Regions from separate parts of the Homo sapiens genome. Here all the other regions are linked to region 3. Evidence: promoter capture Hi-C in 16 types of primary human blood cells and fetal thymus (Javierre and others, 2016). All regions are on one chromosome and are shown on one strand. Each heading gives the region's core, a stretch centred on a gene start or on the middle of the fragment in contact. The rest is flanking DNA. Distances are from core to core; before and after follow the strand shown. Region 1 overlaps LINC02437 (long intergenic non-protein coding RNA 2437). Region 2 overlaps IRF2 (interferon regulatory factor 2). Region 3 holds the start of CENPU (centromere protein U).

Region 1 (4,724 bases), core at 738-3,237, 260 kb after region 3:
CAAGGCCGGAATCCTGGGGATACAGCTTTAAAAGACGACAGAGGCAAAACCAAAAATTCACAAAAGAGGTTGAGAAGAGGCCAGAAATACCGTAAAGACCAGGGAAGTGGTGTCATGAAAACCAAGAGAGTAAGGAGTTCCAGCAAGGAGGGGCTCACCTGTACCAAGTGCCAAAAGAACTCAGAGGGCCACTGCATTTGACCACAAAGACGTACGGGACACTTCTACTGGTTTGGTGAAAATGGAAACCGAGGATTTCAGCAGGGGTTGTAAGCAGAAGAGAGGTGGACACAGTGAGTGGAGACAGAGAATGGAACCCTTCTTTTTTTTTTTTAAGACAGAGTCCTGCTGTGTTGCCAGGTTGGAGTGCAGTGGCACAATCTCGGCTCACTGCAACCTCCACCTCCCAGGTTCAAGTGATTCTCCTGCCTCAGACTCCTGAGTAGGTGAAACTACAGGCGCGCGCCACCATGCCTGGCTAATTTTTGTATTTTTAGTAGAGACGTGGTTTCACCATGTTGGCCAGTCTGGTCTCGAACTCCTGACCTCGTGATCCACCCATCTCGGCCTCCCAAAGTGCTGGGATTACAGGCGTGTGCCACCACGCCCGGCCTTTTTTTCCTTTTAATATTACTTTTAATTGACACATAATAATTATACATATTTATGGGGTACAGTGTGACAGTTTGATACATGTATATATGTGCAATGATCAAATAGCATAATTAGCAGATCCATCACCTCGAACACTTATCATTGTGTTGGGAACATTCAGAATCCATGGAGCTCATTCTTGCCAGGGGCTTGGCTAAGCAATCAGAGGGAAATAGAGCGCTAGAAAGAAAACCAGAGGCAAGAGAGGGAATTTTATTGTTGTCTGTTTCAGGACGTGAAAACGTTGAGTGTGTTTGTCTGCTAAGGGGAAGGGACCAATGAGGGATAGAGAAGATGACATGGAAAAAGACGCGTGACTAACGGAACCAATTCTTAGGAGCAGAAACTAAATGGGACCCAGAGCACAGGGGCAGGGCAGGAGGCAGTGGGAGGAGAAATTCACCTTAGAGACGGAAGGGGCCCTTATCAGAGCGATGGAAGAAGGTGAGAAGGAATATAACATAGACAGGTGAGTGGGTGGAGCAAGAGAGGAGAGTTCCTGACGGCGGTGATTATTTTCTTTGTGAAGTAAGTCACAAAGGCACCTTGTGAAAAGAGGGTGAGATCATCTGGAGACAGTACGGAGCAGTGTGGAGCGGCCGCTGTGGAGATGAAGAGTGTGTATGTGAACATTGCTAAGAAGTGGGCAGTGCAGGCCGGGCGCAGTGGCTCACACCTATAATCCCAGCACTTTGGGAGGCTGAGGTGGGTGGATCACCTGAGGTTGGGAGTTCGAGACCAGCCTGACCAATATGGTGAAACCCCGTCTCTACTAAAAATACAAAAATTAGCTGGGTGTGGTGACATGTATCTGTAATCCCAGCTACTCGAGAGGTTGTAGCAGGAGAATTGCTTGAACCTGAGAGGCAGAGGCTGCAGTGAGTGGAGATCACACCACAGCACTCTAGCCTGGGCAACAGAGTGAGACTCTGTCTCAAAAAAAAAAAAAAAAAAAAAAGGAGTGGGCAGTGCAGTTGGAGTCAAAGCACTGGGGCTCCCATTCACGCTGAAGTATGGTTCATCAGCATCATTCAGGTTCCTGGTATAAAGAAGGAAGATGTAAATCTGAATTTACTCCATGTTGCTGAGTAAGGTGGCTCACACCTGCAGTCCCAGCTACTTAGGAGGCCAAGGCAGGAGGACTGCTTGAACCCAGGAGTTCAAATCCAGCCTGGGCAACATAGTGAGATCCTATCTCAAAATACATAATAATAAATTAATTTACTCCATGCTTGGTGGTTTGCCAAAGAACAGAGGGCAATGGAGTGGAGGGAGCTGGTAAGAGAGTGTTGGAATTGCTGTTCTGTGGGGTCTGGGCTAGAAAGGACAAAAGTGAACATAGGAAGTGGTTCATCAGACTTGGAGGATGTGGGGGAGATGGGATGTGAAGTGGTGCTTTCTTCACAGCATTTGCCTTGGTTGTAACTAAGCCTTTAGTTAAGTCATCATTGGATCACTGTGCTCTGCCCCAGGTGCAGGTCTTTGTGAGAAGGGACCATGCCTGTGTGGTTCATCGCTGTATCGCAGTCCCTTGCACAGTCCCTCCTACACACCGGGTGCTCATTAATTTTTTGTTGAATATTTAATGAGAGAGCTGGAAGGTCTGGGAGAGACTGGATTATGGCAGAGAGGCATATGGACTCCCACAGGTGGAGTACTTCCAAGGGATGATAGATCCAAGCCATGGAGGGAAAGAGGCGAGATGCAGCAAGGTGACCTCAACAGAGCCATGTCGAGCTGGGGAGAGGAAGCACAGGCAGAAAGGAGAGAGGGAACAGCAGTCAAGGGGCTGGAGACCGTGGGGATGAGAGGCCAAAATTAACTGGCCTCAGGTTGCTAGCTAGAAATTTATCAAAAAAAGTATTAGTTTGGTGCAAAAGCAATTGTGTTTTTTTACATTATTATTATACTTTAAGTTCTAGGATACATATGCAGAAGGTGCAGGTTTGTTACATAGGTACACACGTGCCATGGTGGTTTGCTGCACCCATCAACCAGTCATCTACATTTGGTATTTATCCTAATGCTCTCCCTCCCCCAGCCTCCCACCTCTTGACAGGCCCCAGTGTGTGATGTTCCCCTCCCTGAGTCCATGTGTTCTCATTGTTCAACTCCCACTTATGAGTGAGAACATGCAGTGTTTGGTTTTCTCTTCCTGTGTTAGTTTGCTGAGAATGATGGTTTCTAGCTTCATCCATGTCCCTGCAAAGGACATGAACTCATCCTTTTTTATGGCTGCATAGTATTCCATGGTGTATATGTGCCACATTTTCTTTATCCAGTCTCTCATTGATGGGCATTTGGGTTGGTTCCAAGTTTTTGCTATTGTGAACAGTGCTGCAATAAACATATGTATGCATGTGTCTTTATAGTAGAATGATTTATAATCCCCAATGGCAAAAACCACAATTACTTTTGTACCAACCTAATACTTTAGTGCTGAAATTGAGGTACGCCATGGCTTGCAGGAGGCTGTACTTGCTACTTATATCTGGTTCTGGTAAGTAGAAGCAAGAACTAAGAGAGGTCATCCAGGCCAAAATAATAAGCAGAAAGAAAAATATTCTGCCCGTGGACACATCTCAATGTTAGGCAGAAATTAACTGAAAATCAGTTATGGTGCAACTGCTTCATTTTATCTTTTCAGAATTCCTTTTTCAAAATACTTTCCCTCCTGCATGAGTATTCTGAGTTGGGTCTGCCTTTGCTATTAACATCTGTATAATCAAGTTTATGGTCTAATTGGGCAATCACTGCAAACATTTCTGGGTAAAAAGCCATGCATTCTAGCATTATTTTAATAAGCCTCTGATCCAGTTAGTTCTAGTCATCCAGTGGTTTATTTTGTACTAAAGAACCAGCTTTTAGATTTGGCACTACCTTTTTCCATTTTCTAATTCAGTATTATCTGCTTTTATCTGTGTTTAATGTGTCCCCTCTTTTCTTGGTGTATTTTGTTGCACTCTTTTCTTTTCTTAATTTTTTGAGTTGGATACTAATTCACCTTTTTTCCATTATTCCTTTTTGGACTGATTTAAATACTTAAGACTAAAATCTCCCATGAGCTCTGCCTTATTTTTTACAGGTTTCATAATTGCTGTTTTCTAGAAATTTTACAATTTTTGATATCTATATCTTCTTTATATCAAGAGTATTTGGGCTGGGTGTGGTGGCTCACGCCTGTAATCCCAGCACTTTGGGAGGCCGAGGTGGGTGGATCACTGGAGGTCAGGAGTTCAAGACCAGCCTGGCCAACATGGCAAAACCCCCTCTCTACTAAAACCACAAAAATTAGCCGGGCGTGATGGCACGCCTGTAGTCCCAGCTACTTGGGAGGCTGAGACAGGAGAATCGCTTGAACCTGGGAGGTGGAGGTTGCAGTGAGCCAAGATCCCACCACTTCACTCCAGCCCCAGCATGGGTAACAGAGTGAGACTCCATCTAAAAAAAGAGAGTATTTGATAAAAATGGTTTTAAATTTTTTTAAATTGAAAATTCCAAACATAAACAAAAGTAGAGAAATAGGATATAGGATTTCCATATACCCATTACACAGCTCAATGATTATCAATATATGACAAATTTTGGTTCATCTTACTGCAAATCCCAGATATCTTATCATCTTATTACAAACATTTCAATATGAAAATAAAGATTTTTGAATTTCCTAGTGGAAGGGAGGTTTTTTTCTGGCGTTATTGTTAATGTCTGATGTTATTACGTGATCATCAGAAAATATTTCCTGTACTATTTATACTCTTGGAATATCTGTCATTCACAAATGTAACCTGGACATTTAAAAAGTTCATTTTCTGTTTCCAGGGTACAGTTTATTTAATATATATCAGTTAGATTTACCTTACTTAATGTTACAAACTAGAAGAAGTAGTCTACTAATGTAGTTTCTACCTTCTCCCTTTATCTCTTGTAATTTCTACTTTGTTAACCAAGTTGCTATGTTATTGATGCATAAACACCCATTACAATTATATATTCTTAATAATTACACCTATTTGCATTATAAAGTGCACTTATTTAATGTTTTTTTTGGCCTGAATTCCATCTTGTCT
Region 2 (4,434 bases), core at 282-2,781, 290 kb before region 3:
CACTGTCCTAAAGTCACTGGTTCATTGTGATGTGCTTTAATCCACTGAGACCAACGCTCCTTAGGCCTAAATAGGCCTTGTACTCTGCACCCAGCAAACACCCAATGAATGTAGACCAGCACTATCCAGTAGACATTTTGCAACTATTAACTTGTTATTTATCAGGGCAGTCAACAAGGTGGCTCCTGAATACCTGAAATGTGGCTACCATGAATGAGGAAAGCTTTGTCATCAAAGATGGAAACATCGTTTCCCGGCCGGTTCTAATCTTTCCAAATCACAGTGAGTGGTCAGGTGTCTGGTGGAAAGAAAATACCTGCTCGTGACACCCCTGTAATGTTCCTGCTACTGAAACAGCTTTGTTTTGGGAAAAGCTTAGTTTTAAAAAGCCTGATGCACACTCTGCAAACTTAATCACCTTTGGAACACAACCTGTTGGTAAGCAAGGGAGCTTTTCTGTGAGTAACTGCCTCATCCAGATCTAGACCTGCAAACCCTTGAAAATGATACCAGCTGGCCAGCAGGGAGTGTCCCACTTACCAGGATGTTGTCAATATCCTCCACCATGAGGGTATTAACAATAGCTAAGGAGTATTAAGCGCTTAGCAGTGTTAGGCAAGTTCTAAGCACGTTAAGAGGATAAGCTCACCTGATTCACAGCATCCCAAGAACGTGGGTACTACTGTGGTCCCCATTTTATAGATGAAGAAACTGAGGCACGTAAGGTTAAGTAACTTCCCAAGGTCACAGAGCTACTGAGTGGTAGAACTCATATTTGAACTGGAGTCTTAGGCCCTGACTTAGCATTTGGATATGAGGCTCGCACAGGCAGGCCAAACTGGGGTTCACATCAAGAGGTAGAGAGGGCCCCACACCTCCGTCTGACCTGGCATCTGCACTGGGAGCCTGTGTGGAAGGGGACACAGCCAGGGCAGCAAGATCCCCACAGCCTGCCAAACATCGTTCCAGCTCCTGAGCTGGCCCGGGTGCACAGGAAGCAGTTTCCCAGCCTCCTTTATGCAGCCCCTTCCAAAGTCACACTTCCTGCCCCATTTAATACTTTCCCAGCGAGTGGGCATCAACAAAACATGCTGCGTTTCCTGGCCAACCCGAGCTTTCCTTTTGTAGTCCGGACTAGGAAAACACTCCCATACTCCAAAATAAAGATACTCGCCCTCTCTCCACCCCTTCACCTCCATGCTCTCTTTAAGGAAACAAGAGAGAACCAGAGGGGCTTTTTCCTGGCTTTGCATCACCTGGATGCAGATGAATCAGTTGTTTCATTTTAGTTGCTGCTTCTGCCATAAAGCAGGGCCACCTGGGTGCTTCCAGGGTCTTTTGAAGGCAGAAGGGGAGGAAAGTGTGCCCTGCCCAGCCCATAACCGATTAACCTGAAGAACTATTTCAGAAGCACAAGTAAGTCCCATAGAAGACAAACGCGCCACTATCTTAATGTTAATTTCACATTAACATTTATTTAAGGTGCTGAAAACCAGTGAACTAGTAAGCATCCTCAATATTTGTCAATTTCCACCTCCTGCCGTTTCAGTGCATATGAAGAGCAAACACTTCGTTATGGGGCCGTTTTGCTTCCCACTCTAAAAATGACCTCATTTTTAGTATCAGGACCTCCAAGAAGTACAAAAACCCTGTGCCCCAAAACTCCTTTCTCCAACCTACTTAAATCTCTCAGCCCTGTTTGTTTTTTACCACTTGATACCAAGTACTTCTCTCTTGGTCTTCAGAAGATAACTTTGTGGGGGTGGGGGTGGGGGTGGTGGGGGCAGCGGGGTGGGAGGGGTTGTTTTGTTTTGTTTGAGACAGAGTCTCACTCTTGTCACCCAGGCTGGAGTGCAATGGCACGATCTCTGCTCACTGCACCCTCCGCCTCCCAGGTTCAAGCGATTCTCCTGCCTCAGCCTCCTGTGTAGCTGGGATTACAGGCACGTGCCACCTTGCCCGGTGAATTTTTGCATTTTTAGTAGAGATGGGGTTTCACCATGTTGGCCAGGCTGGTCTCAAACTCCTGACCTCAGCTGATCCACCCACCTCAGCTTCTCAAAGTGCTGGGATTACAGGTTGTTTTTGTTTTTGCTTTCAGTTTTAAATTCAGGGGTACCTGTGCAGGTTTGTTACATGGGTATATTGCAATGATACTGGGGTTTGGGCTCCTAATGATCCTGCTGTCCAAGTAGTGAACATAGTACCCAATAGGTAGTTTTTCAACCCTTGCCCTACTTCCTCTCTCTCCCCTTCTGGAATCCTCACTGTTTCTTGTTCCCATCCTCATGTCCATGTGTACTCAGTGTTTAGCTCCGTCTTATAAGTGAGAACATGTGGTAGTATTTGGTTTTCTGATTCTGTGTTAATTCATTTAAGATAATGACCTCCAGCTCCATGCTTCTTATTGTGAATGATTTCATTGTTTTTATGGCTGCATAGTATTCCATAGTGTATATATACCATATTTTCTTTATCCGGTCCACTGCTGATGAGGACCTAGGTTAAGTCCATATCTTTGCTATTGTGAATAGTGTTGCAATAAACATAAAAGTACAGGTATCTTTTGCTAGAATGATTTCTTTTCCTTTCAGTATATACCCAGTAATGGAATTGCTGGGTTGAATGGCAGTTCTATTTTTAGTTCTTTGAGAAATCCAGGAGACAGTTTTAAATCCACCCATCCCAGAAAGCTTTCCCTAGCCAGTGTAAGCTCATCTATGACCACAACTCCTGCTGAGATGACAGCCCTAGGAAATGGTTTGGGTATTAATGGTGATCAATCATGTCTGACCCTTAGCTTATTAATTTGGCAACATGCAAATTCCTAATAAGTGATTAGGCCCTTCATAGGCCTACCCTTATTCATCATGGAGTAGGATGGCAGCTGCAATGCAGGACTCAGGATGACACCCGAGGTCTGACAGCCACATGACTCCAGGACAGCACAGCCCCCTAAGGGCAGGGCAGAGACCAGGGAAGACCTCGGCGGCTCCCATATCCATGACAAGTGGGCAGGAGCCAGCCTTGGCTAGTGACGCTTTTTTATCACTATACTGTATATGAGATGAGGAGAGGAACCTTATCTCATATACAGTATAGTGATAAAAATGAGACCTTAAATGAGAAATCAACAAGCCATTGCCCCAAAAATTCAGAAATCCCCTGGTGCTGGTCACCATCTCCACAACTGTAGAAGCCATTCAGGTCTCCATCCGGCAACTATAGCCACTTCCCAGGGCACTGCTTCAGGAACCAAACGCAGAAGGTAACAGAACCCAAGACCCTATGCCTCAGTTTTCTCCTCTGTAAAATGGGATAACTTCCGCATGGTTTGCGGTAAGGATTAAATAAGATGTGTAACATGCCTAGCCTAGTACCTGATCCATCAATAGTTGATATTTAACAAATAATAGTTTCTGCAGACACAAATTTATGGTCAACATTGTTCAAAGAGCATTATTTATATAGCAAAACTAACCCAAATACCAGACAGTGGGAAGATGTTTAAAGAAAATGTAATAGAGTCAAATAATAGAGTATTGGGACTACAGCAGATTCCCTCATCTCAACAAAGGGATGATTTATGTCCTGGGCAGGAAGAGGTGGGATGTTACATTCCATCATGCTACTTGCAACAGTGCACAATTTAAAACTTATGAATTGTTTATTTCTGGAATTTCCCATTTAATATTTTCAGACCTCAGTTGACCATGGGTAACTGTAACCACTAAAAGCAAAACCACAGATAAGGGAGAACTACTGTCTAGAATATTTAATTTGTGCAGGAATGCACAGAGCATAATGTGAAAAAAGTCGGGGAGCAGGTGGTTTTAACCATCAGGGCAATCAAGGACCACGCGCAAACTTCCAGGCCCTGCCGTACCATGGTGGCTTCCCCATGAGTCCCCAGCTGAGTCCACGTGCTGACACGCTGCTCTCTTCCCCCACAGCACCAATGACAGTCAGAGTTCCCCGTTCACTCACCCTTACAGAACTCAGAGCATGCGCCGGGCTGACAACATGCACCAAGAGACAGTTGTTTGACCTGGAACTGGGCCTCTGGGGGGCGGGGGTGTGCCCCAACCCCGGGTTGGCACAGAACAGAAGGTGAACGTGTTTCCTGAACAGCCCAGTGTCATCACACTAAGTGCCATCCTGTGCTCACTCTTAAGTCCTGAGTTTTCCAAGACTGTCCTGATGTCAGCAGGGTGCCCTAATTTTAGATGAGAAAATAAGAACAATAGGCCAGGCACAGTGGCTCACACCTGTAATCCCAGCACTTTGGGAGGCCAAGGCAGGCGGATTACGTGAGCTCAAGAGATCAACACCAGCCTGGTCAACATGGTGAAAGCCCATCTCTACTAAAATTTATATAAATTAGCTGGGCATGGTGGTGTGTGCCTGTAATCTCAGCTACTCAAGAGGCTGAGT
Region 3 (4,618 bases), core at 2,119-4,618:
AAGGAAATTCTAAAACATTAACAAAAGTCATTTTATCCACTATACCGGAAAAAGTGTGAGGAAAATGAACACACTTTTTCACTACAATAAACATTGAACTTGCCAAGTGAAGTCTACAAAACTGAGGTACCCAAAAAATGTTATTTTGTACTGTCAATTTTGAGAAAACCACAACACAAAAAGGTAACTTACATCTTTCATGGAATGTGTTCTTTCTAAAGTGTTCTTTGAACGTCTTGCGCTATTAAACAGCAAAAAAACACAAGAGTTAGGAAATAGTTAAAATAACTGAGGAAACACCATAGTTATGACCCTTTCCGCGCATTTTTACCAAAAAAAAAAACAAGAACCCATATTCCACAAATTTATTTTTTATAGGTCAAATCCTATCACCAATGTATAAAATAACATACCTCTCCCCCTCAGGGACATGGAAAAGTTGGAATCCTGCTGTTAACTTTTTCCCTGAGGCCTTAATCAATCAGCAGTGATTGACTTTCTCTGCACAGCTGAACAAAGGGGAGGTAGGCTAACGCTAAGCCCCGACACCTGCTCCATCCGGTGCCTGGCTCTCCTACGTCCTTTTCTCATTTAATTCTAACAGTCCTATAAGGTAGAAGTGAATCCCATGTTACAGATGTGTGCTTGCCCACAGCAACACGGAGCCAGGAGGGAGACAAGCCTGCATTAAAATTTACATCAGTTCAAATCCAGGGCCTGCCCTCGACCTCCCTTGACACTCTCTCAGTTGGACCACAGCTTCAAATGATAAAGTTGTATATATATCTTCAACAAGCTTCAAGAAAACAAATGTAACAATGGTGACAAGAATAAAAACGGGAAATAACAGTGGCAGGATTATATATCATTATTACTAATAATAGTGCCAGCAGTCAGTGAATATGTACAGACTATCCTCCACCAACCAGGCATCGTACAAGGGTACGGGGGGGATACTCCAGGAGAATACAGTACATAATTAGACTTTAAAATATGCCATGCAGATTGCAGCCATATTTTTCTCATTTGTAGACAGCAAAATCAGCTTAGTCTAAACCAATGTTTTAGTATCCTTTTATCTGATATAATTTCAAGCTCACAGAAAAGTTGCAAACATAGCACAAGGACCTTCTGTATGCCCTTTACTCATGTGCTCTGTGTGTGTGTGTGTGTGTGTGTGTGTCTGGAGATACTGTGCACTTCCACCCCTAAATACTACAATATGTCTTTCCTAAGAGGGCATTATACTGCATATTCATGGTACAATTTCTAAAATCAAGAAATTTAACACTGATACCATAATCTAATCTACAGTCCATACCCAAATCACATCAATTGTCCTATAATGTCTTTTAAGATTGCCAGGCCAGCATTTTTAAAAAAACAAACAATAAAAAAGGAAAATATAAAATGAAGCATTGCACTGGATATACTATGTTCACAAGCCTTTTGTTTTATGTGTGGATGTGTGCACACGTGTACTAAGTGTGATGTAAAACATCATTACTGTGAATCACAGTTAAAAAAAAAAAGTTAGAAAACTGTTCAGAGCGGTGGTTCCCAGACTTGAGTGTCATCAAAATTCTCAAGAGGGCTTGTTGAACAGGTTGCTTGGCACCACCCCAGGAGTGTCTGATTCAGTCCCTCTGGGGTGAGGTCTGGGATTCTGCATTTCTAACAAGTTCACGATTTATTTATTTAATTCATGAAACCTAAGGAAGCAGGTAAGACAAGTATTGGTTTTATGGCAATTTTATAGATGATGATTCCGGGATTCAGAAAATTTAAGTGACTTATCAAGGGTCACATAGCCAGGTAACAGAAACCCAGCTACACACTAGACCACATAAACTTCTTAACCTAAACTCTTTGAGCTGTCTTGTCCTTTCTTGGGGGGGAAAAAAAGTCAAGGTTCCTCCTTGCCTTACGCTGGAGTCAAGGTGGGGCTTCTGAGAGACAGAAACCTCTGTGACAACCCACAGGTAAAATTTCTGGGCCAGGCGCGGTGGCTCATGCCTGTAATCTCAGCGCTTTGGGAACCCCAGGAGGGCGGATCACGAGGTGAGGAAATCAAGACCATCCTGGCCAACATGGTGAAACCCCGTCTTTACTAAAAATACAAAAATTAGCTGGACGTGGGGGCGAGCGCCTGTAATCCCAGCTCCTCTGGAGTCTGAGGCAGGAAAATCGCTTGAACCTGGGAGGCGGAGATTGCGCCACTGCACTCCAGCCTGGGCCACAGAGTGAGACTCCGTCTCAAAAAAAAAAAAAAAAAAAAATTCTGTTGTATGTGCGTAAGTGTGTTTTGGGAGGAGGCATGAACAGATTTCATGAGTCTCAAACCCAAAAATGTTAAAAGATAAAAATAAAAAAAGACAACAAAAACCACTAGCCTTTCAGATAAACTCTTTTCAGCTGACATTGAAGGCTGACATTCTCTTCTAATCCTTTTTTGCACTGGGGGAGTCTTCATTCTCCTCCACTGGCCACAGAAGTCTGGTCTCGGTTTCCCCACCCACCTGCGGTGTCCTGCTCCAGCTTTTCCACCCTAACCCCGCATCTACCAGCACCTCCTCCTCCAGGCAGCCTTCCCAGGCCCGGGGGAACTCCTGTTCTCTTCAGATCGTCTTGGCGTATGGCTTTGTGCACCGTCTGCAGCAAGCCGAGACCCTTCCCGCCAGATCCAGGCCGGGCCTTGGATGGCCATTCGCCAACGAATCAGCGACCAGCATTCTAGAGCGCGTTTTGCAACCGACCAAACGCTCGCTTTCTTTGGTAAACAAAAACCGCTCGAGCCATCCTGGAGAACCGCAAGCGGCAGCTCGGTCCCCCAGCCGGATTTATGCTCCAGTTTACGGTCTGTGGTTTGCAGTAAGAAAACACCAGGGTCTTCAAAATAAGAAAACTGATTCCCAGTCAGAGAATAAAACTCCACTAACAAAGTCTGGCAAACCGCAGGCAATACGTATTTGCTGAATATTTTGCTTTCAAGCTAGCACTTTGAGACTCACTACTTTGGACGGCACTCCCCCTCCCCACAAAACGACACGACACTGGCTGACGTCTCTCCCACCCGCCAGGCAGTGTTAGGCCCCGACAGGCCCGTGCAGGTGGGATCACTGTTATCCCCACTAGACTGAGGAGGAAGCCGGGGACCCGGGCGATTGGCCACTCGGGCGACCTCCACAGTGGAGCACCAACAGCGCCGGGAGGCGCAAACCACGGCAGGCGAGGAAGCAGTTCAAGCTGGTCTCCGGCCCCGCGCTCCCGAGGGTCGGCAGTACTTACCCCTCAGACCTGTGAGGCCGCGGCCGCCGCCGCCCCCGCGGGGCCATGGTGCCGCTCTCCGCTCTCGAGCGACTGGAAGCTCCCGCCAAGCCCCTCGCCGCTCCGAACAGCCAATCCGGGCCGAGCACGCGCGCGTGCGCAGGACTTCCTGAGCGGCCCCCGGGCTCCTCCCTGGCCTGGAGCGTGAGGGAAAACTGGGTCTGGTTATTACAGCGCAACGGAGCTGGAGTCCATGCCGCACAACCAGTTACCTACGGTCCAAAACATGCCAAAGTTTTCCGGGCTTTCGCGCCCACCCGCATCGCCAGTTTTCCGGCGCCAGAAAGCCCGGGAGCCACGTGGGACGGCCCCTTGTGGGGTGGGGAAAGGGGAGGAGCTAGTGTCCCTGAGTCGTGGGCAGGTAAGAGGGTGGGTGGAGACCCGTGTTCGCAGCTGTTGTCGCTGAGGCCGCAGTCGTCTTTCCAGGCCTACAGGATTTGGCTTCCAGCCCCTGCTGCCTTTATCAGCTGTCTGAGCTTAGCATGTTACTTTACCGCTATCCCAATACCTTCATTTGTAAATGGACAGGGTTCCTTTTGTTCTTTTATTTTGTTTGTGTTTAAAAATGTGTAATGCAGAAGAATGTAATTGAACCCTTACCTTACACCGCGTATAAAAATTAACGCAAAATGAATCAAAGACCTAACTATAAAGGCTAAAATTAAAACTCTTAGAAGAAAACAGAGCAAAAACTTCATAACATTGGACTTGGTATGATTTCTTGGATATGATACCAAAAGCAGTTTGGGATGATGAAAACGTTCTGGAAATAGTGGTGGATGGATGCACAAGGTGAAGGTACTTAATGCCACAATACTGTAAAGTTAAAAACGGTTAAAATGCTAAATTTTGTTATGTATATTTTACTACGACAAAAATATTACGTTTCATGCATATGAAAGAATATAACGTGTAATGTAAAGATAAAAACAAACATCCGTGTAACCAGCACTACATGGGGATATGGATCATTTTTATATATAACTCTTGGGTACCCCTCTGAATGGTATCCTCCTCCTCCAAAGAATAACCACTCTTCTGATTTTATGTGTATCATTCCTGTGGTTTTCTACCTTGATATAGCCCCAAATAATGTATTGATTATTGTATGTTTCTAAACTTTATATGATATTTGGTAGGTATGCTGCAAGTGCCCTTTCTTACTAAAGCTATTGCTTTTATTTTTTATTTATTTTATTTTTCCATAAATTATTGGGGTGCAGGTGCTATTTGGTTACATGAGTAAGTTCTTTTTTTTTTTTTTTTTTTTTTTTTGAGTTGGAGTTTTGCT

What was found. Contacts are between HindIII fragments. The CHiCAGO score rates a contact against its expected background, and 5 or more counts as called.
Region 1: a fragment that was not itself captured here is called in contact with the fragment with the promoter of CENPU in region 3 in 1 of 17 cell types (monocytes); the score reaches 7.0 in monocytes.
Region 2: a fragment that was not itself captured here is called in contact with the fragment with the promoter of CENPU in region 3 in 1 of 17 cell types (total CD8 T cells); the score reaches 6.5 in total CD8 T cells.

Annotation. Positions count from the first base shown.
Region 1 is chr4:184,994,965-184,999,688 of GRCh38, forward strand. All of the region lies in intron 1 of LINC02437 (long intergenic non-protein coding RNA 2437), which reads left to right. Among named protein-coding and RNA genes, the nearest start is that of LINC02437, 8.0 kb to the left of the region's middle. The HindIII fragment of the contact is 7,688 bases long and covers 1-4,724 here.
Region 2 is chr4:184,441,126-184,445,559 of GRCh38, forward strand. All of the region lies in intron 1 of IRF2 (interferon regulatory factor 2), which reads right to left. Among named protein-coding and RNA genes, the nearest start is that of IRF2, 31 kb to the right of the region's middle. RefSeq lists an enhancer at 3,998-4,147. The HindIII fragment of the contact is 2,319 bases long and covers 373-2,691 here.
Region 3 is chr4:184,730,728-184,735,345 of GRCh38, forward strand. It overlaps CENPU (centromere protein U), which reads right to left and starts at 3,369. Exons shown (of 13, transcript NM_024629.4): 1 at 3,289-3,369; 2 at 193-241. The coding sequence starts at 3,335. RefSeq lists enhancers at 2,809-3,675, 2,826-2,945 and a silencer at 3,316-3,375. The HindIII fragment of the contact is 4,927 bases long and covers 795-4,618 here.